Linked DNA regions of Homo sapiens: regions 2, 3, 4, 5, 6 and 7 are each linked to region 1. Evidence: promoter capture Hi-C in 16 types of primary human blood cells and fetal thymus (Javierre and others, 2016). All regions are on one chromosome and are shown on one strand. Each heading gives the region's core, a stretch centred on a gene start or on the middle of the fragment in contact. The rest is flanking DNA. Distances are from core to core; before and after follow the strand shown. Region 1 holds the start of PEX5 (peroxisomal biogenesis factor 5). Region 2 has its middle 31 kb from the start of APOBEC1. Region 3 overlaps CD163 (CD163 molecule). Region 4 overlaps CD163 (CD163 molecule). Region 5 has its middle 7.4 kb from the start of CD163L1. Region 6 overlaps APOBEC1 (apolipoprotein B mRNA editing enzyme catalytic subunit 1). Region 7 has its middle 53 kb from the start of APOBEC1.

The links. The method cuts DNA at HindIII sites, captures the fragments that hold promoters and counts their contacts. A CHiCAGO score of 5 or more calls a contact.
Region 2: a contact is called between a fragment that was not itself captured here and the fragment with the promoter of PEX5 in region 1, in 16 of 17 cell types (naive CD8 T cells, monocytes, M2 macrophages and 13 more). The highest score is 11.7, in naive CD8 T cells.
Region 3: a fragment that was not itself captured here is called in contact with the fragment with the promoter of PEX5 in region 1 in 4 of 17 cell types (M0 macrophages, M1 macrophages, erythroblasts and 1 more); the score reaches 5.8 in M0 macrophages.
Region 4: a contact is called between a fragment that was not itself captured here and the fragment with the promoter of PEX5 in region 1, in 4 of 17 cell types (erythroblasts, M0 macrophages, M2 macrophages and 1 more). The highest score is 9.2, in erythroblasts.
Region 5: a contact is called between a fragment that was not itself captured here and the fragment with the promoter of PEX5 in region 1, in 5 of 17 cell types (erythroblasts, M2 macrophages, M0 macrophages and 2 more). The highest score is 9.9, in erythroblasts.
Region 6: a contact is called between a fragment that was not itself captured here and the fragment with the promoter of PEX5 in region 1, in 15 of 17 cell types (M0 macrophages, M2 macrophages, endothelial precursors and 12 more). The highest score is 13.5, in M0 macrophages.
Region 7: a contact is called between a fragment that was not itself captured here and the fragment with the promoter of PEX5 in region 1, in 3 of 17 cell types (M0 macrophages, M2 macrophages and erythroblasts). The highest score is 8.7, in M0 macrophages.

The regions. Positions count from the first base shown.
Region 1 is chr12:7,188,272-7,192,041 of GRCh38, reverse strand. It overlaps PEX5 (peroxisomal biogenesis factor 5), which reads right to left and starts at 2,356. Exons shown (of 16, transcript NM_001351132.2): 1 at 2,292-2,356; 2 at 1,518-1,680; 3 at 1,119-1,154; 4 at 684-816; 5 at 342-473. The coding sequence starts at 1,664. RefSeq lists enhancers at 1,530-1,609, 1,067-1,782, 1,640-1,789, 1,783-2,499, 2,500-2,559 and 2 more and silencers at 1,980-2,389, 3,410-3,459. The HindIII fragment of the contact is 37,708 bases long and covers 1-3,770 here.
Region 2 is chr12:7,632,569-7,636,534 of GRCh38, reverse strand. No RefSeq gene overlaps it. Among named protein-coding and RNA genes, the nearest start is that of APOBEC1, 31 kb to the left of the region's middle. The HindIII fragment of the contact is 7,139 bases long and covers 1-3,966 here.
Region 3 is chr12:7,489,280-7,493,022 of GRCh38, reverse strand. The region is part of intron 6 of CD163 (CD163 molecule); the gene reads left to right. Among named protein-coding and RNA genes, the nearest start is that of CD163, 13 kb to the left of the region's middle. The HindIII fragment of the contact is 1,814 bases long and covers 1,350-3,163 here.
Region 4 is chr12:7,469,387-7,473,550 of GRCh38, reverse strand. It overlaps CD163 (CD163 molecule), which reads left to right. Exons shown (of 17, transcript NM_203416.4): 17 at 2,154-2,740. Among named protein-coding and RNA genes, the nearest start is that of CD163L1, 27 kb to the right of the region's middle. The HindIII fragment of the contact is 1,132 bases long and covers 1,655-2,786 here.
Region 5 is chr12:7,449,632-7,453,406 of GRCh38, reverse strand. No RefSeq gene overlaps it. Among named protein-coding and RNA genes, the nearest start is that of CD163L1, 7.4 kb to the right of the region's middle. The HindIII fragment of the contact is 5,120 bases long and covers 1-3,775 here.
Region 6 is chr12:7,651,136-7,655,301 of GRCh38, reverse strand. It overlaps APOBEC1 (apolipoprotein B mRNA editing enzyme catalytic subunit 1), which reads left to right. Exons shown (of 5, transcript NM_001644.5): 2 at 670-697; 3 at 2,467-2,864; 4 at 4,161-4,166. Among named protein-coding and RNA genes, the nearest start is that of APOBEC1, 13 kb to the left of the region's middle. The HindIII fragment of the contact is 3,129 bases long and covers 1,350-4,166 here.
Region 7 is chr12:7,610,699-7,614,826 of GRCh38, reverse strand. No RefSeq gene overlaps it. Among named protein-coding and RNA genes, the nearest start is that of APOBEC1, 53 kb to the left of the region's middle. The HindIII fragment of the contact is 6,485 bases long and covers 1-4,128 here.

The DNA of each region.
Region 1 (3,770 bases), core at 1,107-3,606:
CAGAATCCCAGGTGCTGTAGTGAATACTCTCTTCCTCGGCAACACTGCCATCCATCCAATCTGTAGATCCTCTCCACTAAACCACAGTGATAAAGTAAAAAGGCCAACCAAACTCTTCGTTCTCTCTATCCAAAATCTCTTATCCAGTACAAACCCAGTCCTCTCTTTAATATACATTACATTCCGTTATCACCTAAGGGAAATTGAGTTCAGTACCCTACCCCTCTAGAAATGAGTCATGAGACCAGAAAAATCGTAATCACACTATAACGTGAACAGGGGAAGGGTATAGAATTCTGTCCCATAGAAGCCAATATAGATTTTCCCATAACAAGTTTCACCTGTAACTTCAGAGATGAATTCTTGGGACCAGTCAGTCTCATTATAATCCTGAGTTACATCCACAGCATCTCCAGCTGCAAGAAACTCCTGGGCCCAGTTCTCAGACAAGGCCAAGTCTGCCACACCAGGGGCTTAAAAGAGAGAGAGAGAAAACTAAGAAAGAATACATACATACCATTCCATCATGCCTAAAGAACCCTGAATCCACGTGAAAACACTCTGTTACTTTTGTCTCCTTCTGCATCTCAGGTCCCCAATGCCAGCAGCATCCAATGGAACCCCCTTCCTTGGCCCTGGCTACATGGAAAACGATCTCCCCTCCCACTAGACTCTGGACTCACCTCTCTGGGGAGCCTGGCGGAAGTTTGACTGCTCAATCTGCTGCATCTCAGCCAGGAGGTCATCCATCTTGAAGGTCTGAGGGGCACGGGACACAAGGGGTGCATTCTGGTCCTGCAGGAATTCAGCCACCAACTGCCAGAAGGGAAATGATGAAATGAACCCATAGGCTTGGGAGGCCCCAGCAAGAGGCAGGACCCACTGGAGGGGGATCCCAATGTTAGATACAAGGAAAGGAAAACACAGAAACTGGAGACACATAAAGAGAAACTGTCTTTCCATAGATTTAGAAGGACGAAAAAATACATTTAAAAACAAGCAGGCATTCTCATTCGGTCAGGAAAGCCCAAAAATTGAAATACGGGTGAACTAAGTTTAAAGGTAAAAACACAGTGGGCAAGAGAAAAATGGGACAGAAAAGAGACTGGTCTATTTACCTCATCTTCAGAAGCTACTCCCAAAGGCTTGGAGGCCTAAGAGAGAAAGACAGAGATGTACAATGACGCAGTTCCTCTAAAATCAGGGGTTGATGAAGCCCATAGGCATCTGAGCCTCGGCTTCTTCATCTATAAAATGGTTGCATTTATTTAAAGGTGCACAGGGTTTTCTAGTGTTTATAAACGCTCAGTAAGTGGTAACTACTATGATTTGCAACACAATAGAGAAAGCAGTTATACCAAGATGTGCAAACAGCCCCTCCACCTCAGACCACCACCACCTGGGCTTTCCACCTCAAGAACACTCACTGCCTCAGAGGCTGCACCTGGGCTTTCCACCTCAAGAACACTCACTGCCTCAGAGGCTGCACCTGGGCTTTCCACCTCAAGAACACTCACTGCCTCAGAGGCCGGGGCTCCGGGGGGCCAGGGGCCAGGCCTCAATCCCTCCTGCCGAAGGGCCTTGTCCTGGGTGAAGTGCCCGGCGAGCTTCATGAGCGGGTTGGCACCCCCGCATTCGGCCTCCACCAGCTCCCGCATTGCCATGGTGACCGCCAGCTCTCTGATGGACACAGGAGGTTTGGAACTGAGGTACCCAAGCCAGACCCTTCTCACATCCACAACTCTGCCCGTATCTGAGGAAGGCACACAGGCGTCTGCCCCACACTGGCCGCCCTCCACCCCAGTGCTTTTGCTGCGACCCCCACCTCTGCCAGGAGTTCGAGGGAGGTCGGTACTCTCTCCTGCCGCCCCCCTCAAAGGCCACCGCTTCCAGCCTGCGCCTCTGCAGAGGCCTCCGCGACTACGGTCCCATGGGCTGGGGGCCAGCAGCTGCCTCCACAAAGGGGCCTGGACCCCGGGGGACCACGGGGACGCTTCAACAACCAGGCTGGACGGCGACACTGCCCGAAGAAGGGACAGTGGGAAAACAGCCCGACCATACCTAGCCCCGCGCAGCCCCAGCACGCGGTGAGCACGGCAGAGGAGCATTCCCTCCCCTTAAGTCACCGGAGCCCTTCCCCCGGCTCGGCCCGGTCCCTCCCGCGCTCCCCACCGCCCATCTCCCCGGCCCTGCTGCCGCTCCAGCCCCGCCCCTGGGACCCGCGAGGCCACCGCAAGGGTGGGGAGGGCCCAGGGACGCGGCCCCGGGCCCCCTCGGGGTCAGGCGCTCACCGCGGAGCGCCGCGCCGCACGACCCGCCGGGGCACCAGGTGCTGGCTTGGGGGAGGGGAGAAGAGGGGGCGGGGAGCCAGGGGGCGGGGCTCAGGCTTAAAGGGGCCGTGACCGCCCCGCAGCGGCCCAGGCCCAGCGGAAGCTGTCTGAAAAGGCGGGGCCTTAAGACTGCGACGCAGCCTGACGGGAAGAGCCGTGAGTCTTAAAGGGGAAGAGCACCTTAGAGAGCGGGTCTTGGAGAGTCGCCTTTAGGAGCGCTCGAAAAGGCCACGGGCCCTAGGATTTGTTTGACGGAAAGCTCAAAGAAGAGTGGAGCTAAGAAGGGCTTCCCAGGCTCTGGGGGAAAGCCGAAGACGCGAGATCCTAGGCTCAGTCGATCCTGCCTCTTCCCTTGGGCGCATTGTGACCTAAGGGGATTCAGTGCCCTTTCTGAGCCTCAGTTTTCCCCTCTAAAATGGGGCTGGCTAATGTTCCCAAGCCCAAGAAAGAGAAAAGCCCTAACACCAGGGGCTGGGGAGTCCAGTCCGAAGCCTTCTTCAGCCTCCTAGGCCTGCCCCGCTTCCAAATAACCCCTAGCGGGGTAGCGTCACTGTCTCCATGGAGACAGGGGCCCGCCCCCGCCTTAATCCCTCTCCACCTCTGCATAATGGGGAAAATAGCACTGCATGATGACAAATTCCGGAGACCAAAATAGGGTCCAACGCATCCTGAGACCTCGAGCTGGTAACGTACAGGGAAGGTGAACAGTGAGTCAGCCCTTCCTTCCGCTAAGTCAACATAGTGGCCTTATTCCCATCACTCCAGGCTGGGAAAGGACAAACATACAAGAAATGCTTTTAATCACGGAATAAGACTAAGCCTCAAGCCCCCTCATCTGCCAAAGAGTGTGCTCTGCTGTCAAACCTCAAAGTCATTGAGAAACAAACCCTGATAATCTCACCCAGCTTCAAGACCAAGGGAGTCCTAGTGTCATGGAGAAGAGCAAGGAGGGGCCCAGGGCTGCCGGTAAATGACCAAGGGCAATAATGCCAGACGAACAGAAGTACCATCCCAGCCCAGGGTGCATGAGCGGAGGCAGGCAGGCAGCAGGTGGCGCCATGGGCCGGGCTTGTTTCCTGGCTGTTCTGCAGATTTCAGAGGTGGAGGCCTCAGGGGGCCACAGGGAATGTCTGTGTAAACTCATCCCTGGGAAGACAGAGAAGCTGCTCTGACACCTCAGGGGAACAGAATGGCAGGGGACAGACCATAAGACTGTGCAACATTTCTCCTTTTCCTTGCCTTTTCGCCCTCTTTCAGAGGCCCCACTTCTACACCCCGTTTTCTTCCGGAGCACACAAATCCCAGCCCTTGGGCGTCCCCTGTTCTCAGGCTGCCATCGTGAGGAAAATACCTGATAAACTAAACCACACAAGGATGAAGAGATGCCCTCCAGAAGGTGCATACTTTTAAAAAGAGGACCCCCTAGAGAGAGCAATGTTT
Region 2 (3,966 bases), core at 1,068-3,567, 440 kb before region 1:
GAGTCATGACCCACAAACCATAAATTCTCATCAGATGGGTTTTATTTAATCCTGTATATTACGACTTACTTTCCAATCTGACTCTGGCATAACTAGAAAGAAAATAAAAATGTTTTACCCCAAAATATATTTTCTTGCCATACCTTGAAATTGCCCTGCAAAGTCCCTTGTGGGAAAAATCCACATTCTATAGAGAATCCCCTTTCCCCTTTGTTTTCCTTTCTTCCTTTCTGGATCCAGGAGATAATCAACTAAGAGCCAGGTACCCTTTTAGGTCTGATAGGAAACATTTTACAACCTGCTGTCTCTGAAGTCTGCTATCAGAGAGCTTCCTCTGCACAATAAAACTTGGTCTCCACAATTCTTTATCTTAACTTGAACATACCTTTCTTTTTTTTGAGACAGAGTCTCACTCTGTCACCCAGGCAGGAGTGCAATGACGCAATCTCGGCTCACTGCAACTTTCGCCTCCTGGGTTCAAAAGATTCTTGTGCCTCAGCCTCCCAAGTAGCTGGGGTTACAGGCACCCACCACCATGCCCAGCTAATTTTTGTATTTTTAGTAGAGACAGGGTTTCACCATGTTGGCCAGGCTGGTCTCGAACTCCTGACCTTGGGTGATCCACCTGCCTTGGCCTCCCAAAGTGCTGGGATTACAGGTGTGAGCCACCACACCCGGCCTGGACATTTCCTTTCTATTGATCCCAGCTCTTCAGATAAACTCAACCAACTGTCATACAGAAAATGTTTAAATTTACCTATAGCCTGGAAGCCCCTGCTTTGAGTTGTCCTGCCTTTCTGAACCAAACCAATGTATTTCTTAAATGTATTTGATGTGTCATGCCTTCCTAAAACATATAAAAGCAAGCTGTACCCCATCCATCCTGGGCACATGTTCTCAGGACCTCCTGAGGGCTGTGTCATGGGCCATGGTCACTCATATTTGGCTCAGAATAAATCTCTTCACATATTTTATAGAGTTTGACTATTTTCATCCATACTAGGAAATATGACTATTATCTCTACTGAAATAAAGATACAAGTGGTGAGAAGTAGTAAGATTTGGGATATATATTAAAGGTTTAGTTGACAGGATTTGTTGATGGAATAAATGTATGCTACAAAGGGAAAACTCATGACTTTTACATTTTTAGCAAGAACAACCAGATGAATGATACTGTCACTTAACTGAAATGAGGAACACAGGGCTAGGAGTGGTTTGAAAGTGAAGTCAAGAGTTCCATTTAATTATGTTAACTTTTAAAATGTTTATTAGACATACAAGTGGACAGTTATTCATGTCTGAATTTGATAGAAAAGGTAAAATCTGGGGATTAAAAAAATGGGCTTTACATATGCATTGTCTTAAAGTCACAGGAATGGTTGACCTTACTTAGACATGTGAATATGAATTGTGGACATAAGAAAATTGAAGACCAATCCACAGGATTTACCAACATCTGGAGATCAAGACAAAGACGAAGAAACAGCAAAGTTGGCTGAGTAGCAGTAGCCAATAAGATAAAAGATAAATCAGAAAACTTTTATCCCAGAAGCCAAGTGGAGAGAAAAGTGTTTTAAGAATGAAGATGGGGAAGATTCTAGGTAGGTGGTTTTAGTACAGTGCACTTTAAAAATCTCCATCTAGGGCAGCAAAACCAAGGAGCAATGAACAAAACCCATTTATAGCAAAACTAGATGGCAAAATTTCTCCATGAGCTTTCAGTTATGAGAAGATGATGACGAATTATCAGTAACTACACAACCCACAAAGTATCAGCATCTGTTTGGGAAGTTGGACAGGATCCAACTCACAGGAAAGTCTAATAGGGCCACAGTGCAATAAAGTATAAAGATGTTGGGTAAGTCTGGGCCCTATAGACTTTCTTTTTTTAAAAATTTTTAACCTTTTTTTTTTTGGAAATGGAGTCTCGCTCTCTCGCCCAGGCTAGAGTGCAGTGGCGCGATCTCCCCTCATTGCAAACTCCACCCCCCGTGTTCACGCCATTCTCCTGCCTCAGCCTCCCAAGTAGCTGGGACTACAAGCGCCCGCCACCACGCCCAGCTAATTTTTTGTATTTTTAGTAGAGATGGGGTTTCACCATGTTAGCCAGGATGGTCTCGATCTCCTGACCTCGTGATCCACCCGCCTTGGCCTCCCAAAGTGCTGGGATTACAGGCGTGTGCCACCGTGCTCAGCAAATTTTTTTAACTTTTTAGTTCAGGGGTACATGTGCATGTTTGTTACATGGGTAAACTTGTGTCATGGGGGTTTGCTGTACAGATCATTTCATCACCCAGATATTAAGCCTAGTACCCATTGTTATTTTTCCTGATCCTCTCTCTCCTCCTACCCTTCACCCTCCAACAGGCCTCAGTGTGTGTTGTTCCTTTCTATGTATACATGTGTTTTCATCATTAGCTCCCACTTATAAGTGAGAACACATGGTATTTGGTTTTCTGTTCCTGCATTAGTTTGCTAAGAATAATGGTCTCTAGCTCCAGCCATGTCCCTGAAAATGACATGATGTTTGAGCTAATGGATATCGCAATTACTTTGATTAGATGATTATATACTACATGCCCGTATCAGAATATTACATGTGCTCTATAAATATGCACAACTATTATGGATCAGTAAAAAATAAAAATAAACCAAGGCTGTCATTTTCAAGCTACAAAAGAAAAAAGGCGATTAGGTCCTACATATGTCCTTTTCCATGTCATCTAAGTCTAACTTGGCTTATAAGATCACAATCAATATCCTAAATGGGAATATGGGATTTTAAGAATTTTCTCTTAGCTTCTAATTTTCTTTAGCTTCTAATATTTCTGTAGATAATATGCCAGTATATTGAAAGTACATATATCACACAGGGGCAACAGTTATGTTTCCATGTAAGAATTTATTCCCCAAATAGTTATTCCACACTTACAATGTGCCAGCCTGGGGTATAAATTAGGAAGCAAATTAGACATATTTCCTATTATGAAGAGGTTACATTTACATATGAGTAGATATTAAAAGCAAATAAAAGGCAGTGTTGTTAAGGCCTAAGACGAGGTAAGAAAACCAAATAATGCCTCTTAACTTAGACTTGGAAGAGCAAGGATGCCCTCCTGCAGGGAATGACATCTCAAAGAATTAGGTCACTAGTAGAAGTTACGTAGCTGAAGAGTTGAATGAGGGCTGTTCTGATGAACATAGATGCCAAAGTCCTCAACAAAATATCAGCAAACTGAATCCAAAAGCACATCAAAAAGATTATTCATCACAGTTAAGTGGGCTTTATTCCAGGGATGCAAGGATGGTTCAACATATGCTAGTCAATTAATATGAGGCACCATATCAACAAAATGCAGAGCAAAAAACAATCATTTCAACTGATGCTGAAAAAGCATTTGATAAAATTCAACATCTTTTCATAATAAAAACCCTCGACCAATGAAACGTCAAAGGAATGTACCTCAAAATAATAAGAGCTATATATGACAAACCCACAAACATCATCATACTGAATGGGGGAAAGTTGAAAACATTTCCCCTAAAAACTGGAACAAGAAAAGGATGTCCACTCTCACCACTCCTATTCAACATAGTGCTGGACTCCTAACCAGAGCAATCAGGAAAGAGAAAGAAATAAAAGGGATCCAAATTGGAAAAGAGGAAATCAAATTATCTCCATTCACTGATGATAGGATCATATACCTAGAAAACCATAAAGACTCCTCCAAAAGACTCATAGACCTGATAACGACTTCAGTAAAGTTTCAGGATACAAAATCAGCATATAAAAATCAGTAGCATTTGTATACATCAATAATGTTCAATCTGAGAACCAAATCAAACTCAATCCCATTTACAATAGCCATGAAAAAATCATGTGCCAAGGAATACATTTATCCAAGGAGGTGAAACATCTCTACAAGGGGAACTACAAAACACTGGTGAAAGAAATTGTAGATG
Region 3 (3,743 bases), core at 1,007-3,506, 300 kb before region 1:
AAGAGCATATAAATATACTTTGATCTATGCTGTGACCAGCCCTTCTCTTTAATTATTGACCACTGCCTTAAGGCCGTTTGAAACTGTGGGTTTGGGAGGAAGGACAAGACCTAAATTCCGTCTTTGCCGGTAGACTCATTGCCTTTGTATCTGGAGTATCAATTTTATCTTCTGACAAGGCTACAGTTTTACCACCACCTCAATTTGGGGGGACAGGATACTTAGAGTTTTTTCTTCAATTCTTCAATTCCAAATTATAGGACTCTTGATTAACAATATACAACACCTGCAGGCAGACCATACCCCCTTATAAAATTGATATTTCTCCTCCCATTTCTGCTTGCATTCTGACTGCTTGTAGTCTGAATTCATCTTTCTTGTAAATGCTAAAAGTGGCAAGGAGAATCCACGTCATGCAAATATTCTGATTTTTTGTAGTTTTGTTTCTTGTACTTTGCCCAATAAATTCTGCATTTTTTAAGCATCAGTGAGCACACGGTTTTCTTTTCAAAGTGAGGCTTACCCAAATATTTTACCATGTGTAAGACTCCTTAGGTTTTTAGCCTCTCACACCTGAGTCATTAATGCATTCTGCCCATCAACTCCATTCAACCACACCCATATTTTAGGTTGCATTACTAGAATACCTTACTTATGGTAACATGTTCTAAATTATTCAGGATTCTATTCAGATGTGTATAATAGAAATCATGAATAACATAAATTTGCAACTTAAGGTGGGCTCCGTACTTCACAGAGCTGTATTTTTGTTTGCTATTTGCCATGTGCACTTTTTGTTTCCTTTTACAAACTCTTTTGTTATATTGCTGTAGGTTTTGGAAGTTCTTCTACTTATGTTGGGGGCCTTGGTTTTTAGCTTTTTACATGTTTTGTTAGTAATATAGTTTGTACTTTTGTTTCTTTATTTACTTGATACTTTCAATGATGACATACTGTCTCTGTCAATGATGATATGCTGTCTCTGTGCCTGCCAAATTCAAGCTACGAATTTGATCATCTGTTTAAATTGTTTAACTTTTATATAGTACAGGGCTATACAGCTTAAAAGAACCAGGAGAATTCAACTAAGCAGGAGAATTGGAAACAATTTAAGATAAATTGTTGACAGAAAAAGGTCTAGGAAATTTTGGCCACAAAATTACTTTGAATCTCAGACATTTTGTTTGTGATGTCTGTGTATGTACTGTAGAGGACATCTGACCTTAAGAAACAGTTCATTTGAGCTATGCTGTCTTTTAACTTAGGATGGAGAAATAATTCTGAGATTATGATGATCTATACTTCTTCAGAGTCTGAAAAGCATTAAATGTTGAAAATACATTAAAGCTTCTTTAAATCATAATTGTATATTTTATTTATCACTAAACAAAAGGAAGTAATTCTAGTTAATTATGTCTCTAATTATGTTAAAGCTCTTTGTAGATCTATTTATTTTTCTAGAAAAAGAAAGAAAAACAGATTCAGTTACTTATGCCAGGGGAAAACTGTAGTTGTTGATCAATGGTGCTAAATCCAGGTGCAAAAATTTACTTAATGGTTTTTATGTAAAAACACAGTCAGAGACTTAGCAGAAAAAAATCCATTAAAGGGATACATTTCCAATATTCTATCCATGTCTAAAGAGTAACGATATAAGCAAAGCGACCCATAGGATAGATTAACATGTTACTAGCAGATTCACGAAATAAAGGCTGAGGATGGAGTCTCCAAGTCACTTTCTGAGTTGGAGAATTTGTCCTCTGCCTTGACTCAAATATGTTAGTACAAAGAAAACAAGAGGATACTTATAGAAGGGACTTTTTCTCAATTGCTTAATGAGTTTTCACAATGGAAAAGAAAATATTTTTGTTTGTTTGTTTGTTTGTTTTTCACTGGTTTTCTTTTGGTTTATTTTGTTCAAGATGGGTCCAAATGAAAGAGTAAGAAGTTACAAGAAACCAGAATTTGGCTTGATCTAGGAGACTGCCTTTACTTAAAGATTTAGGGCTGTCCAAAAGAGGTTGGGATCATATGAATACTAGTTAATGATATCTTAGAGAAATTTCATGCTTGAATAAAGATTCAAAAAGAAGAAATGAAAGACCATCCCACTCAAGGGTCATTAATTATTTGTATTGTAGAGGTGTTATTTGCTTTAAACTCTGAGCTATGTTTAGAAAGCAACATGTTTTTCATTTCAAATTTGGATAGGAATTTGCTTTGCGCAGATTTAATGGATAATGGGTGAAATTTTGACATGTTGAGGTATTCTATATTGCTGTAGTACAGAACATGGTCATATTCGAAACATTTTCTAAGACATTTTTGTATCAGGTGAAAGGTTTATGAGAGATGAAAGGAAATCAGAGTATGTAGATTGGCAAGGGCTGATGGTGTATCTATATCATTGTGATAGTAACATCAAGAGATTACAAAAATTGTTGATATTTGATAGCAGGTATCTATAAAGGACTTAAGACCTTCAGAAGGTCTAATTTTCAACTGCATTTTCTTTATTTCTCTTAAAGAACAAGTTAAAAGAAATAGTTTGTATCTCTTAAGTACTTTATATTGCCTCTGAGTATTTTCAAAGAAACTCACTTATCTTGATGATTGTGTTTCTTAACTTGACAAAGAGCATCTTCATAATATAAATTCCATTTATTATTTCTGGTGTGTCTTTTCTTTATATTTTAAATTTCAGCTACAGTAAGTTACTTATAATTCTTCAATGACACCATGCATTTCGTGACCATATTCCTTAAAGATTGTTTCACACACTGTGTATTTGGCAAACTCCTCATCTTTTTTCAAGATCCAGTTTAGATCTATGTTATTCTCTCCCCCATAGTCTAAAACAGAGTGAATGACTCCTTTATTTGTTAGTTTTATGTCTAATACATATTTCTATTTTTGGGTTCATCACTATTAAAATATGTATATCTTGTAGTGAACTGTGTTCATGGAGGAGAAGGCTATTAGTGAGAAATTGAACAGCCTTGAAAAGAAGTAGCCTTTTCCTAGGTATATAAGGTAGGGAAATAAATTTTAAGTAGAGAGAAAAGTTTCTACAGAGGCACAGAAGCATGAAAATTACGGCATGCCCAAGCATCTTTAGGCTGGAGCATCAAATTAGGTTGATAAAGTAATAGATATTAAAGCTTTTAAGGTAACAGCATACTATTTTAAAGTGTACTAAAGAATTAGTGTTTATCACCTCTCCTTAATTTTAATAGCTGGACGAAATTAGGGAATCTATGAAAACTGTTTGTGCTGCAGTTTGCTCAGAAGAAAAATGGGAGTGGTAATAGGGCCTACCTCACAGGAATTACACAGTGAGCTATAAATACATGTTAGCTAATATGATTATGATTATTATTTTTAGTATTATCTATCTTCACTGACAGACTGAATTCTGTGGCGGCCTTTTTAACCCACCCATCATCAAATGCCTAAAATAGAGTCAGAGAACATTACAGGTTGTTACATTATAGGTCATTACATTGATACTTTTGGATTAATTATTGCATACATGATTATTACAGAAATTATAAGAAATTATGTAAGGGATCATTGCATACATTTTAAGGAAACGTTAAGTCATCTAAAGGAAAAACATCACATGAAAATATTTGAAATTTATTAATATATTTATAATCATGGCATAAATTTCTTGGAAAAAAGACTTTGAAGCAAGGAAACAATTTACGAAGCTATTGTAGAGGTCTGCATGACAGATGATG
Region 4 (4,164 bases), core at 971-3,470, 280 kb before region 1:
CAGGCCTGATGGTGACAAAATCCCTCAGCATTTGCTTTTCTGTAAAGGATCTTATTTATCCTTCACTCATGAAGCTTAGCTTGGCTGAATATGAAATTCTGGGTTGAAAATTGTTTCCTTTATGAATATTAAATATTGGCCCCCACTCTCTTCTGGCTTGTATGGTGTCTGGAGAAAGTTCTGCTGTTAGTCAGATGGGCTGCCCTTTGTAGGTAACCTGACGTTTCTCTCTGGTGCCCTTAACATTTTTTCATTCATTTCAGCCTTGGAGAAACGGATGATTATGTGTCTTCGGGTTGCTCTTCTTGGGGAGTATCTTAGTGGTGTTCCCTGTATTTCCTGAATTTGAATGTTGGCTTGTCTTGCTAGGTTGTGGAAGTTCTCCTGGATAATATCCTGAAGAGTGTTTTCCAACTTGGTTCCATTCTCCCCATCACTTTCAGGTACACCAATCAATCATAGGTTTGTTCTTTTCACATAGTCCCATATTTCTTGGAGGCTTTGTTTGTTCCTTTTCATTCTTTTTTCTCCAATCTTGTCTTCATTCCTTTTTTCAGTAAGTTGATCTTCAATTACTGTTATCCTTTCTTCCACTTGATCGATTTGGCTATTGATACTTGTGTATACTTCACGAAGTTCTCATGCTGTGTTTTTCAGCTCCATCAGGTCATTTGTGTTCTTCTCTAAACTGGTTATTCTAGTTAGCAGTTCCTGTAACCTTTAATCAGGTTCTTAGCCTCCTTGCATTGGGTTAGAACATGCTCCTTTAGCTCAGACAAGTTTGTTAGTATCCACCTTCTGAAGCCCACTTCTGTCAATTCATCAACCTCATTATCTGTCCAGTTTTGTGCCCTTGCTGGACAGGAGTTGTGATCAATTAAAGGAGAAGAGCCATTCTGGTTTTTGGAATTTTCAGCATTTATGCACTTGTTTTTCCTCATCTTCATCGATTTATCTACCTTTGATATTTGGAGCTGATGACCTTTGTTGGGGTTTTTGTGTAGGGGTCCTTTTTGTTGATGTTAATATTATTGATTTCTGTTTGTTAGTTTTTCTTATAACAGTCAGGCCCCTCTTCTGTAATTCTGCTGCAGTTTGATGGAGGTCCACTCCAGACCCTATTTGCCTGGGTATTACCAGCGAAGGCTGCAGAACAGCAAAGATTGCTGCCTTCTCATTCCTCTGGAAGTTTCGTCCCAGAGGGGTACTGGCCTGATGCCAGCCAGAGCTCTCTTGCATGAGGTGTCTGTTGACCCCTGCTTGGAGGTCTCTCCTAGTCACTAGGCATGGGGGTCAGGGACCCACTTGAGGAGGCAGTCTGTCCCTTAGCAGAGCTCGAGCGCTGTGCTGGGAGAATTCTCCTTGTCAGGATCTGCTGCTCTCTTCAGAGCCAGAAGACAGGAATGTTTAAGTGCGCTGAAGCTGCACCCACAGCCGCCCCATTCCCCCAGGTGCTCTGTCCCAGGGAGATGGGAGTTTTATCTATAAGCCCCTGAGGGGGGCTGCTGCCTTTCTTTCAGAGATGCCCTGCCCAGAGAGGAGGAATCTAGAGAGGCAATCTGGCCAACGGCCTCCTTGGCCTCCTTAGCGCTGTCACGGGAAAACCGTCTACTCAAGTCTCAGTGATGGCAGATGTCCCTCCCCCGACCAAGCTTGATTGTCCGAGTTCGACTTCAGACTGCAGTGCTAGCATCGAGAATTTCAAGTCAGTAGTTCGTGACTTGCTGCGCTTTGTGGGAGTGGGACCCGCTGAGTGAGACCACTTGGCTCCCTTGCTTCAGCCCCCTTTCCAGGGGAGTGAAAGGTTCTGTCTCCCTGGGGTTCTAGGCGCCACTCAGTTGGAAATGCAGAAATGACTCAGTTGGAAATGCAGAGACTTCTGCGTTGGTCTCACTGGGAGCTGCAGACTGGAGCTGTTCCTATTCAGCCATCTTGCCAGCTCCTATAAATGGCATTTCTTAATCTTACTGTATTTCCATGGAATAAAAGTAATTCTTATGCACACTGAAGTTAAAAAAAAATAGCATTTAAAATTTCTGCTCAGGAAAGTAGTATAATTTTTAACATAAGTGAGTTTCTCTTTGTGTTATAATGTAATGAATTCTTATACGCATATGGAGAGGAAAATGACATTTTTCTATTTATGGTTTTAGTTCAGCCTTTAAGATACCTTGATGAAGACCTGGACTATTGAATGGAGCAGAAATTCACCTCTCTCACTGACTATTACAGTTGCATTTTTATGGAGTTCTTCTTCTCCTAGGATTCCTAAGACTGCTGCTGAATTTATAAAAATTAAGTTTGTGAATGTGACTACTTAGTGGTGTATATGAGACTTTCAAGGGAATTAAATAAATAAATAAGAATGTTATTGATTTGAGTTTGCTTTAATTACTTGTCCTTAATTCTATTAATTTCTAAATGGGCTTCCTAATTTTTTGTAGAGTTTCCTAGATGTATTATAATGTGTTTTATTTGACAGTGTTTCAATTTGCATATACAGTACTGTATATTTTTTCTTATTTGGTTTGAATAATTTTCCTATTACCAAATAAAAATAAATTTATTTTTACTTTAGTTTTTCTAAGACAGGAAAAGTTAATGATATTGAAGGGTCTGTAAATAATATATGGCTAACTTTATAAGGCATGACTCACAACGATTCTTTAACTGCTTTTTGTTACTGTAATTCTGTTCACTAGAATAAAATGCAGAGCCACACCTGGTGAGGGCACAAAGACTCAGTGGTTTCGTTTCTCATTCCTCAGGACATTATAAGTAAAGCTTAAATACATACATAAACTATGTCTTTTCTATGTAAATATAATGGTTATAAAGTAAGTTTGTATATTACTAAAAGTTACTTATGATACATATTCACATAAAGAAAAGATAGCATTTAAAGTAGTACAACACTAAACTTAGGGCCTACTAACTTGCTAAATATCCTAGTTTTCTATGCAATTGATTTTTTTTTAATTTTAGTGGGTCCACTGTAAGTGTATATATATATGGGGTATATGAGATATTTTGATAAAGGCACACAATGTGTAATCATCACATCAGGGTAAATTAGGTATTCATCACCTCAAGCATTTATCCTTTCTTTGTGTTATTTATTTTTTAAATGACAAAATTTTACATATTTATCATGTTCAATATGATATTTTGAAATATGTATACATTGTGGAATGGCTAGATCAAGCTAATTGACATATGCATTACCTAACATACTTACTTTTTTCTGTGAGAACACTTAAAACCTCCTCTGAGTGATTTTCGAGAATACAATACCTTGTTATTAACTGTAGTCACCATGTTGTACAATAGATCTCTTAACTTTCTCCTCCTACCCAATGAAAATTTTGTATCCTTTGACCAACATCCTCTAGACACCTTCCTCCAGCTACTGGTAACCACCACTCTACTCTCTGTTTCTATAAGTTCAACTTTTTCACATTCCACTTATAAATGAGGTAATATGACATTTGTCTTTCTGTGCCTGGCTTATTTCACTTAACATAATGTCCTCTAGGATCATTTGTTTTGTTGCAAAGGACAGGATTTCCCTCTTTTTAAAGGCTAAATAGTATTCCATTGTGTATATGTACCACATTTTCTTCATTCATCCATCAGCGGACACTTAGGTTGATTCCATATGTGGGTTATTGTGACTAGTGCTACAATAAACATGAGCATGCAGATGTCTCTTCAACATGCTGATTTCCTTTACTTTGGAAATATAGACAGAAGTGGAATTGCTGAATCATATGGTAATTCTATTTTTAATTTTTAAGGCTGTCCTAATTTGCATTCTCACCACTAGTTTACAAGGGATCCCTTTTCCCCACAACCTCATCAATCCTCATCTTTCATGTTTTTGATTATAGCTATCTAATAGGTATAAGGTGAGGTGATACTGTGGTTTTAATTTGCCTTTTCCTGATGATTAGTGATGTTAAGGATTTTTTTTCATATACCTGTTTGACAGTTGTATGTTTTCCTTTGACAAATATCTGTTGTTCTGCCCATTTTTAATGAGGTTGTTTTCTCAATATTGGGTTGTTTGAGTTCTCTCTATATTTTGGATATTAACCCATTATCAGTATGATGTAAACTCATTCGTTTACGTTCATCTTTGTTGTCTGTGTTTTATTTCCAAAG
Region 5 (3,775 bases), core at 626-3,125, 260 kb before region 1:
AGCATGCTACTGAAGTCTTCATGCAGGTAGGCCTGGGACCTTGGCCAGAAAGTGGGTGAGCCTGGTGTCAGGGTCCATGGGGTTGGGCCTGGAGCCTCGATCTACTTGGGTGTACCTTCTGATTGGGTCCATGGGAGTAAGCATAGATCCTGGGGCCATAGGCATTGGCTTGATGCTAGATGGGCCTCAATCCTGTAACTGCAGGTGTCAATCTGGAGACTTGGTCCATGGATGCTAGCTTGATGTCTCGGGCTGCATGAAAAGGCTGGGAGTCTGAGTCTTTGGGGAATGGCCTGGCACTGGGGTATATCTGAAGCCCAGGACTGCTGGGGTCAGCCTGGTACCAAGGCAGTCTGGAGCCTGAGGCCATTGGGGTAGGTCTGGTGGTATGGCAGGACCCAAGACTGAGTCCAACAAGCATGGTTGGAGCCTAGAGCTGTAGGATCTGGCCTGGCACCATTGTGGGCCTGGAACCCAGCCCATGGTTGCTACCCTGGAGTCTGGGGCCTTGGGCCTGCCCAGTGTTGGGTTTTGCTGGGGCAGGCTCAGTGTTGAAGTTCTAGGCAAAATCTGATGCTTACTTCCCTTTCCTTCCCTCACAGGGAGGGTATCTGTCTCCACATCATGCTTTCTGGGGTTGGGGCAGAGGATGTTGGTAATGTAAAACTGTCCTTCCTCTCCAATACATCTTTTCTTATTGCTGTGCTACACTATGTTCTATAATCTGTCACCTGGTTTTCTTAGCTTTTGTGAGTGTATTTTTGTGCATGAATAGTTATTCAAATGTTTCTATAGGGAGCCAGCGTTGGAAAGCTGTATTGTGCCGTCTTGCTGACATCCAGATGAAAGGTGAAAATTGATTTTTAATCCTTTCTTAGTATCCAGGTATTACAAACACGCTTCTCTGACATTTAAGTCTACAAAGCAACTCTCTTGTGGAAACATGCCATTTGGCACACTTTCTGTATTTTTGCACTTCTTCTCAATTTCAAATATATATTTGACATAGATTAACTAAATTACTTAGTCATTTATTCAACAAAACTTTTTGAGCACCTACTATTTGTCAGGTATTATGTATTAAATACCCAATTGTATTCCATACACTATGCATCCAGTCATATGCCAGGTACTATATATATGTGTGTGCAAATATGAACATATGTATACATCTTTGTAGAGTATATATACTGAGGAACTCTGCCTATATACTAATATAAATCTTTATGTACATGCTTCAAAGTAATATTTAATATAAATAAAGTCTTTACCTATATTTTAGATTTATTTTTACCAGAATTCTATATCAGACATTAATTGTTAAAATAGTTCCTATTAATACATTCCTGGATGGTTAAAAAATATTGTTGTGGTGCTTTCAGAATTTCCATTATTGTCTGACAGAATATTAGTAGTAACGTTCTCTCCCCTTCTTTTGTTGCTCAATATTTCCTCTTTATGGTGAAATCTCCACTCCATATAATAAGAGTTAACATTTACACGGTGCTCACTATGTGCTAGGGACTGTTTCAATGCTTTATATGAATTAAAAACTTAATACCCACAATAACTTTATGACGTAGGTACTTTTTTTTACCCATTTTAGATTTGGGGAAGCTAAAATACAGGGAGGTTAAATGACTTGCTTAAAAGCATGCAGCTAGTAATGACAGAGCTGAAATTTGAACCCAGGTGCTCTGGCTCAAGCGGCCACATTCCTCACCATCATGTTATATTGCTTTTCAAAACAAAATACAGTTTATATGGAGCCAAGACATTTCAATTTCCATTGTCTTATACCCACTTAAGCATAAATTTGTGAAACTGTTAGTCTTTGTAGGTAACCTGTTTACTTTGAGGAAACAAGGGCAAGCCTAGAATAAGGGCCACCTCCATACAGATAAGAAACAAATCTATATGAGCAAAATTGTCCTCTCAAGGTTTGCCTTTGTCTCTGTCTAGTCTCAATTTTTCTTATTTTTAATGTCTATATCACTTGGTCACTTCAGTCACCTAGTTAAAAAAATCACGTTCTTTGGAAAATGATGTACTTTAGAAATAAAAATGTTTATCTTTGCCACCTTAATAATTATTAGATTACTTTTCTTAATGACTCCTTTACAGAATTCTCTCCTTCTGTTGTCAACCCAATACAATTCATTCATTATTAATAATCTCTCTCTCTCTCTCTCTATTGTACGTTGTAATATAACAGTCCTAACATTTCTTGTTTAATTGGCTCCTAAGTAAGTTTGTGCATTTGTTATCATTATAAATGTATCTTTTTTCTTCCAATTTTAAACCGGATTATTACTAATGTAATGCAGATTTCTGTTTCTCTTGAAAATCAGGAGGTCTGAAAACATTGGGCCATCATTTCAACATGACAACGGTGAATTGGAGGTGAGTAACCTCTTCTTCCTTTCAACAGGACGTGCACTTGCCATTTTACCACATTCCGATCTCAACCCACTTCGTGCATTTACATTAGTTGCCTCGTCACTCTGGGCAAATGCATTTATTTAGGATTGGGTGAGTCATAGATACAGGTGTTAGCGTTACTTTGATGACACAGTATCATGTCTTCTGCTTGGTGCTGCTGTTGACTCTGTGACCTCACCAGCTCAATCTGTAAATATAAGCTCTCCTTCTTGGCCCGTGGGGCTTTCTGGGTTCTTATAGCTCTGTCTCTTTTCTGTAACCTGCCACTGTCCTCTCAGACCAAAAGCAAATGCTATGTCCTCCTACCTAGTCATACCCTCCATGGTCTTGCCCTTCTTGCCTAGTATGATCTCATGGTTATCTGACAAATAGGTAGCCCTAGAGTGGTTGTAAATATTTTTTGTCGTCTAAAACCTTGTTTGCATCTATGTTCTAGTTTTCGCTAAAGGTTTTCTAGTTAGAAAGAAAAGTTTTAAAGCCAAAATTTTAAAAAATATTTCTGGCCCTAGAATTCCTCACTTTTTCCTTACCATATTATTGCTTCTCCTGAATTTCTGCTACAGTATCTATAAGGAGACCACATAATCTATAGGGAAGAAAAAAGGAATTTGTCACTCACCACTGCAATTTATTATTTTTGGGATCATAGTGGACTATAAAAACTCCTAATAAATAAATCTAAAGAAAGACTATATTATAATTTAAGAAACTTATATACATATATTTATAAATATATAGCTGTGATTTATAATAACATCATAAATTATACAGATAGATTATGTTTGCATTTGAAGATGTAGGGTAGCTTGCTCATGTTCCTTCTTTCACCATATTTCCTCAAATATTTTATAAGAATACTTTTAAAAGATATATTTCTCACTTCTCTTTTAAATAAACTTTTTATATTGGAATAATTTAGATTTACAGAAAAGTTGTGAAGATAATAAAGAGAGTTTCCATTTACTGCTCATCCATTTTCAATTTCCCCTAATCTAATAATTATCATCTACTATCATCATGGAACATTTGTCAAAACTATGAAACCAGCATTGGTACATTATTGTTGTGGATTGAATTGTGTCCCCACAGAAGATATGTTCAGGTCCTAATCCCTTGTATCTATGAATGTGGCCTCAATCCGAAATAGGGTCTCTGCAAATGTAATCAGTTAAAATGAGGCTATACTGGATTAGAGTAAGCCCTAATCCAACAATGTGTCCTTACGAAAAGAGGAAAATTTGGACTTAGAAACACACAGGAAGGATGCTATATGATGGTGGAGGCAGAGATTGGAGTGATGAATCTTCAAACCAAGGAATGCTTATGATTGCCA
Region 6 (4,166 bases), core at 1,665-4,164, 460 kb before region 1:
CGACCTCAGATGATCTGCCCGCCTCAGCCTCCCAAAGTGCTGGGATTACAGGCGTGAGCCACCACACCGGGCCTATTTTTAATTTTTATTTTTGAGACAGAGTTTTGCTCTTTTGCCCAGGCTGGAGTGCAATGGTGCGATCTTGGCTCACTGCAACCTCCTCTCCCCAGGTTCAAGTGATTCTCCTGCCTCAGCCACCCGAGTAGCTGGGATTATAGGTGCCCGCAATCACACCTGGCTAATTTTTGTATTTTTGGTAGAGACAGGGTTTCACCATGTTGGCCAGGCTGGTCTCAAACTCCTGACCTCAGGTGAACCACCTGCCTCGGTCTCCCAAAGTGCTAGAATTACAGGCGTGAGCCACCGCACCCGGCCTCTAAGAGGCTTTAAGAAGTGACTTTCCCATTGTGCTTAATCATTTTTGTTGAAGCCTTAAGGCAGACTACCTTGTTTGGGATTGGGCATCTGGGAAAAGAGATTTTGGCAGAGTCCTTAAAAATCTTGCTTTTCTTGGGTACAATGAGCTGGTCCAATACAATTAATCCATGAGAGAATCTTCAAATTCCATTTTCTGAGATGATTTGGAGGTTTGGAATAATAGAGCACTTTTTCTTAGCAACTCATTTGATATTTGAGTGTTGTTTGACATAATCATATCTTGGTCAACAGGTCCTTCAACCGGTGACCCCACTCTGAGGTAAGAATAACACTATCACAGTGCCCATTTAATTTGATCAAGAATCAATGGGTATTTAAGAGCTGTGCATGGTGGCACATGCGCCTATAATCCCAGCTACTCAGGAGGCTGAGGCAGGAGTAGGAGGATCGCTTGAGCCCAGGAGGTCAAGGCTGCAGTGAGCTATGATTGCACCACTGCACTGCAGCCGGGGTAACAGACTGAGACCCTGTCTCAAAAAAAAAAAAAAAAAGGAACTGTGGATATAGCTTTCTTTATTGTTCCTTTTCTCTTTTGCCATTTTCCATTCTTTCTTTCATTTTTGCCTTTTCCAGTTTCATTTTCTATGGTTATTGTTTTTTATATCTTTGCTCTTATGTCTTTTGATCTCTTTAAATAAATGATTTTCTAGCTTGCTTATCTGTTATTGTCTTACAATTTCTCTTCTTTTTTTAAATCGCATGCTTTTATAGCCATTAGTGAAATACCTGGGAAACTCATTTGTCACTTTAACTTCATCTTCGTTTTATAATGTCTGCCCATTTTTCAGACATAGGACAGGGAAGTCATGTTAAGGAATATATTATCTCTTGATAGGTGGAAGGATTGATCTATGTAGTAAATGAATGTGATACTTTAGGGATGAGTGGGAACTATTAGGATGTAATAAGCTTGTGACTTAACCATATTGCAAAGAAGAGTCTGCAGTTCAATTCTGAGTTTCCCTTGAGTTACAGCTTTCAGACATAGAGAGTGTTAAATCTAAAGACACCACTGAGAGCAAGTAGAATTTCTTTCTTATAGGAGTTAGTATATAGAATCCTAATGTGGAAGAATCTTGAGGCTAAATTGCTCTTTTGTCTGTTCTTGACAATACAATCTTGTTGGCAATTTGAGGCGTCAACACTTGAGAAAATCTGGTTAGAGTCCATTGAGGAATAGAAAAGATAAGGATTGGAACATAGCACCTCTAGGTGTAAAATAGAAAAGTTAGAATATAGCTAGGCATGGTGGGGCACACCTGTGGTCTCAGCTACTCAGGAGGCTGAGGCAGGAGAGTAGCTTGAGTCCAGGAAGGGGAGATCAGGCTGGCCAGCTTAGAGAGACCATGTCTTAAAAAAAAAAAAAAAAAAAAAGGGTTAGAATATAATGAAGGAAAATTTAAAAGAGAAACAAAGACACGCTTACACCTGAATTCAAGACTAAAACATAATGGTATTAGAGAGTGGTCACCAAATAATGTGACTGGGGGAAGAAACCTGTGCACTATGTTTGTGAGAAAAAAAAATCTGATAATTCAAACAGACCTCTTCAGATAACTTTGAGACATATACTAGAAAAAGAAGTTTCCTGAGATGTTATGTCTCAGATCAGCCTGATAGAAGAGGGGAGCAGAGGCTGGGCGTGGTGGCTCACGCCTGTAATCCCAGCACTTTGGGAGGCTGAGGTGGGCGAATCACAAGGTCAGGAGTTTGAGACCAGCCTGGCCAACATGGTGAAACCCCGTCTCTACTAAAAATACAAAAAAATTAGCTGGACATGGTGGCGGGAGCCTGTAATCCCAGCTACTTGGGAAGTTGAGGCAGAAAAATCGCTTGAACCTGGGAGGTGGAGGTTGTGGTGAGCTGAGATTGCACCACTGCACTCCAGTCTGGGCAACAGTGTGAGACTCCATCTTAAAAAAATAAAATAAAATAAAATAAAATAAAAAAAGAAGAGGGGAGCAGGAAAAGATTTCTAAGATCTCTCTAAATGTGGCATGACAGTGTGGGCTGCTTTTTGTATTTCAGGAGAAGAATCGAACCCTGGGAGTTTGACGTCTTCTATGACCCCAGAGAACTTCGTAAAGAGGCCTGTCTGCTCTACGAAATCAAGTGGGGCATGAGCCGGAAGATCTGGCGAAGCTCAGGCAAAAACACCACCAATCACGTGGAAGTTAATTTTATAAAAAAATTTACGTCAGAAAGAGATTTTCACCCATCCATGAGCTGCTCCATCACCTGGTTCTTGTCCTGGAGTCCCTGCTGGGAATGCTCCCAGGCTATTAGAGAGTTTCTGAGTCGGCACCCTGGTGTGACTCTAGTGATCTACGTAGCTCGGCTTTTTTGGCACATGGATCAACAAAATCGGCAAGGTCTCAGGGACCTTGTTAACAGTGGAGTAACTATTCAGATTATGAGAGCATCAGGTAAAAACAGTAAACAAAGAAACTTCATTGTTTACAACAGACTGTGGTGATAGTAGCTGTTTTTAGGCCAGAAGATTGGTTAGCCCAGGCTGGAAGTCTCAGAAGTAAAAGTCCAAAATAATGTCATAAAGGACTAGGTCTGAAATTCATGACAAGGAAAGTTACAAAAATACAACTCCTGGCTACGCATGGTGGCTCATGCCTATAATCCCAGAACTTTGGGAGGCCAAGGCAGGAGGATCACTTGAAGCCAGGGGTTCAAGATCAGCCTGGGCAACATAGTGAGACCCCATCTCTAAAAAAAATTTAAAAATCCGGCCAGGTGCGGTGGCTCACGCCTGTAATCCCAGCACTTTGGGAGGCCGAGGTGGGCGGATCATGAGATCAGGAGATGGAGACCATCCTGGCTAACACGGTGAAACCCCGTCTCTACTAAAAAATACAAAAAAATTAGCCAGGCGTGGTGGCGGGCGCCTGTAGTCCCAGCTACTCGGGAGGCTGAGGCAGGAGAATGGCGTGAACCCGGGAGGCGGAGCTTGCAGTGAGCCGAGATCGCGCCACTGCACTCCAGCCTGGGCGACAGAGCGAGACTCCGTCTCAAGATAAAATAAAATAAAATAAAATAAAAAATAAAATAAAAAAATCAGACAGGCATGGCAGCATACACCTTTAAAGGCTGAGGTAGGAAGATCTCCTGAGCCCAGAAGTTCAAGGCTGCAGTGAGCTATGATTGGACCACTGCACACTGGCCTAGGTGACAGAGCGAAACCCTGTATCAAAAAACAAAAACAAAAACAAACAACAACTCTTTTTTTTTTTTTTTTTTGAGACGGAGTCTTGCTCTTTCGCCCAGGCTGGAGTGCAGTGGTGCAATCTCGACTCACTGCAAGCTCCACCTGGGGTTCACGCCATTCTCCTGCCTCAGCCTCCCCAGTAGCTGGGACTACAGGCGCCCACCACCACGCCCGGCTAATTTTTTGTATTTTTAGTAGAGACGGGGTTTCACTGTGTTAGGCAGGATGGTCTCGATCTCCTGACCTGTGATCCACCCCCCTCGGCCTCCCAAAGTGCTGGGATTACAGGCGTGAGCCACCGCACCCAGCCAACAACTCTTTTCTCTAGTCTTGCCTCTCAGCCATCTTTAAATGAACTGCTTTATTCTTTTTAGGGGGTCTAATGTCCAGCAGCAACTAGACTAGAGACTACAGGCTTTCTATACGGGAAGCTAGGTTGGGGATCTTCTTAAGTAATTTACCATTGTGCTTGTTGAATGAGCCAAGATTTGTGTTTCCTTAGAGTATT
Region 7 (4,128 bases), core at 1,184-3,683, 420 kb before region 1:
TGCCTCCTGGGTTCAAGCAATTCTCCCACCTCAGCCTCCTGAGTACCTGGGATTACAGGCACCGGCCACCATGCCCGGCTACTTTTTGTATTTTTTGTAGAGATGGGGTTTCACCATGTTGGCCAGGCTTGTCTTCTTTGGTCTCTTGTCTTTATTCCCACATTTTCCCTCCTCGATCCACCAGGGATCGAGGGCGGTTACAAACATATGCATGCACGTATGTCTTTATAGTAGAACAATTTGTATTCCTTTGGGTACATACCCAATAATGGAATTGCTGGGTCAAATGGTAATTATGTGAGGAATGGTCAAACTGCTCTCCACAATGGGTAAAATGGTTTACATTCCCACCAGCAGTGCATAAATATTCCCTTTTTGCCTCAACCTCACCAGCATTTGTTACTTTTTTTTTTTTTAACTTTTTAATATAGCCACTCTGACTGGTGTGAGATGATATCTCATTGTGCTTTTGAGTTGCATTTCTCTAATGATTAGTGATGTTGAGCATTTTTTCATATGTTTGTTGGATGCATGAGTGTCTTATTTTGAAAAGTGACCGTTCATGTCCTTTGCCCACTTTTTAATGGGGTTGTTGGAATGTTAATTCATTTAAGTTCCTTGTAGATTGTAGATATTAGACCTTTGTCAGATACTTAGCTTGAAAATATTTCCTCCCATTCTGGAGGTTGTCTGTTTACTCTGTTGATAGTTTCTTTTGCTGTGCAGAAGCTCTTAGTTTAACTAGGTCCCATTTACCAATTCTTGTTTTTGTTGCAATTGCTTTCGTTCTTTGTCATGAAGTCTTTGCCAGGTCTTGTGTCCAGAATGGTATTACCTAGCTTATCTTCCAGGGTTTTTATAGTGTTTGGTTTTAGATTTAAGTCTTTAATCCACCTTGAGTTAATTTTTGTATATGATGTAAGGAAGGGGTCCAGCTTCAATCTTCTGCATATGGCTAGCCAGTTATCCCAACATCATTCATTGAATAGGGAGTCCTTTCCTTATTGCTTGCTTTTTTGGATTTTGTCAAAGATCAGATGATTGTAGGTGTGTGGTACTACTTCTGCACCCTCTATTCTGTTCCATTGGTCTATGTGTCTGTTTTTGTACCAGTACCATGCTGTTTTCATTACTTGTAAGGTAGTTTGAAGTCAGGTATTGTGATGCCTCCAGGTTTTTTTCTTTTTGTAAAATAAATAACTAAATAACTAAATAAATTTCTTTGGCTATTTGAGCTCTTTTTTGGTTCCATATGAATTTTAAAATAGCTTTTTTTTCTAATTCTGTAAAGAAAATGTTGATAGTTTGATAAAAGTAGCATTGAATCTATACATTGCTTTGGGCAGTATGGTCATTTCTCCAATATTGATTCTTTCTATTCATCAGCGTGGAATGTTTTCCCATTTGTGTCATCTCTGATTTATTTTATCAGTGTTTTGTAATTCTCATTGTAGATATCTCACCTCCCTGGTTAGCTATATTCCTAGGTATTTTATTCTTTTTGTGGCTTTTATGAATGGGATTGTGTTCCTGATTTGGCTCTCAAATTGACAGTTGTTGGTATATAGAAATGTTACTGATTTTTGCAAACTGATTTTGTATCCTGAAACTTTGCTGAAGTTGTGTATTAGATCTAGGAGCTTTTGGGCAGAGAATAGGGGTCTTCTAGGTATAGAATCACATCATCTGCAATCAGGGATAGTTTTACTTCCTCTCTTTCTATTTGGATGTCTTTTACTTCCTTCTCTTGCCTGACTGCTCTGGTTAAGACTTCCCTTATTATGTTGAATAGGAATGGTGAGAGAGGGCATTCTTTTCTTGCACTGGTTTTCAAGGGGAATGCTTCCAGCTTTTGCCCATTCAGTATGATGTTGTCTCTGAGTTTTTTACAGATGGCTCTTATTATTTTGAAGTCTATTCCTTCAATGACTAGGTTGTTGAGAATTTTTAACATGAAAGCATGTTGAATTTTATCAAAAACCTTATCTGCATCTATTGAGATGATCATGTGGTTTTTGGTTTTGGTTCTGTTTATGTGATGAATCACATTTATTGATTTATGTATGTTGAACCAAAGTTGCATTTCAGGGATAGGATAAAACGTACGTGTTCATATGGATTAGCTTTTTGATGTGTTGCTGGATTAGGTTTGCTAGAATTTTGTTGAGTATTTTGCATCTATTAGGTTGGTGCACAAGTAATTGCAGTTTTGGCTTTTCTTTTCCCTTTCTTTCTTTGTTTCCTTCCTTCCTTCCTTCCTTCCTTCCTTCCTTCCTTCCTTCCTTCCTTCCTTCCTTCCTTCCTTCCTTCCTTCTTTCTTTTTTGACATGGATTCTCTATCACCCAGGCTGGAGTCCAGTGGCACCATTTCGGCTCATTGCAACTTCCGCCTCCCAGGTTCAAGCGATTCTCCTGCCTCAGCCTCCTGAGTAGCTGCAACTACAGGTGTTCACCACTACACCTGGCTAATTTTTGTGTTTTTAGTAGAGATGGGGTTTTGTCATGTTGGCCAGGCTGGTCTCGAACTCCTGGACTCAAGTGATCTGCCTGCCTTGGCCTCCCAAAGTGCTGGGATTACAGGCATGAGCCACCACACTTGGCCACTTGGCCTTTATTTTCAATGGCAAAAACTGCAATTACTTTTGCACCAACCTTATATGTTCATTGAGGATATTGGCCAGAAACTTCCTTTTTGTTTGTGTGTCTCTGCCAGGTTTTGGTATTAGGATGATGCTGGCTTCGTAGAATGAGTTAGGAAAAAGTTTCTCCTCCTCAATTTTCTTGAATACTTTCTGAAGCAATGGCACAAGCTCTTTCTTGTACATCTGGCAGAATTTGGCTGTGAATTCATATAGTCCTGGGCTTTTTCTGGTTGGTAGGCTTTTTATTACTGATTCAATTTTGGAACTCATTATTGGTCTGTTCAGGGATTCAATCTCTTCCTGGTTCAATCTTGGGAGATTGTATGTTTCCAGGAATTTATCCATTTTTTCTAGGTTTTCTAGCTTGTGTGCATACAGATGTTTGTTATAGTCCCTGAGGGTTTTTTGTATTTCTGTGGGATCAGTGGTAATCCCATTTGTTATTTCTGGTTGTGTTTATTTGGATCTTCTCTCATTTTTACTTATTAGTATAGCCAGCAGTCTATCTTACTGATTCTTTCAATGATCCAGCTCCTGGATTCATTGATCTTTTGTATGGTTTTTCACATCTCAATCTCCTTTAGTTTAGCTCTGATTTTGGTTGTTTCTTGCCTTCTGCTAGCTTTGGGGTTAGTTTGCTCTTGTTTCTCTAGTTCCTCTAGTTGTGATGTTAGGTTGTTAACTTGTGATCTAACTTTTTGATGTGGGTGGTTGGTGATACAAACTTCCCTCTTAACGCTGATTTGGTTGTGTCCCAGAGATTCTTGTATGTTGTATGTTTTTCTAATTAATTTTTTTTTTTTTTTTTTTGAGATGGAGTCTCGCTCTGTTGCCAGGCTGGAGTGCAGTAGCACGATCTCAGCTCACTGCAACCTCTGACTCCCAGGTTCAAGCAATTCTCCTGCCTCAGTCTCCTACTCAGTAGCTGGAACTACAGGCATGCGCCACCACGCCCAGTTAATTTTTGTATTTTTAGTAGAGATGGGGTTTCACCATGTTGGCCACGATGGTCTCAATCTCTTGACTTCATGATCTGCCCGCCTCGGCCTCCCGAAGTGCTGGGATTACAGGCATGAACCACCACGCTCGGCCCTCTGATTAGTTTCAAAGAATTTCTTGATTTTTGCCTTAATTTTATTGTTTACCCAGAAATTGTTCTGGAGCTGATTGTTTAATTTCCATTTAATTGTATGGTTTTGAGTAATTTTGTTAGCATTGATTCTATTTTTGTTGGACTGTGGTTTGAAAGTATGGTTGGTATGAGTTTGGGTTTTTTTGGTATTTGCTGGGGTGTTTTATGTCCAATTGTGTGGTCAATTTTAGAATATGTGACATGCATAGATGAGAAGAATGTATATTCTGTTGTTTTTGGGTGGGGAATTCTGTAGATGTCTATCAGGTCCATTTTGTCAAGTGTTGAGTTAAGGTCCAAAATGTCTTTGTTAGTCTTCTGCCTCAATGATCTGTCTAACACTGTTAGTGGGGT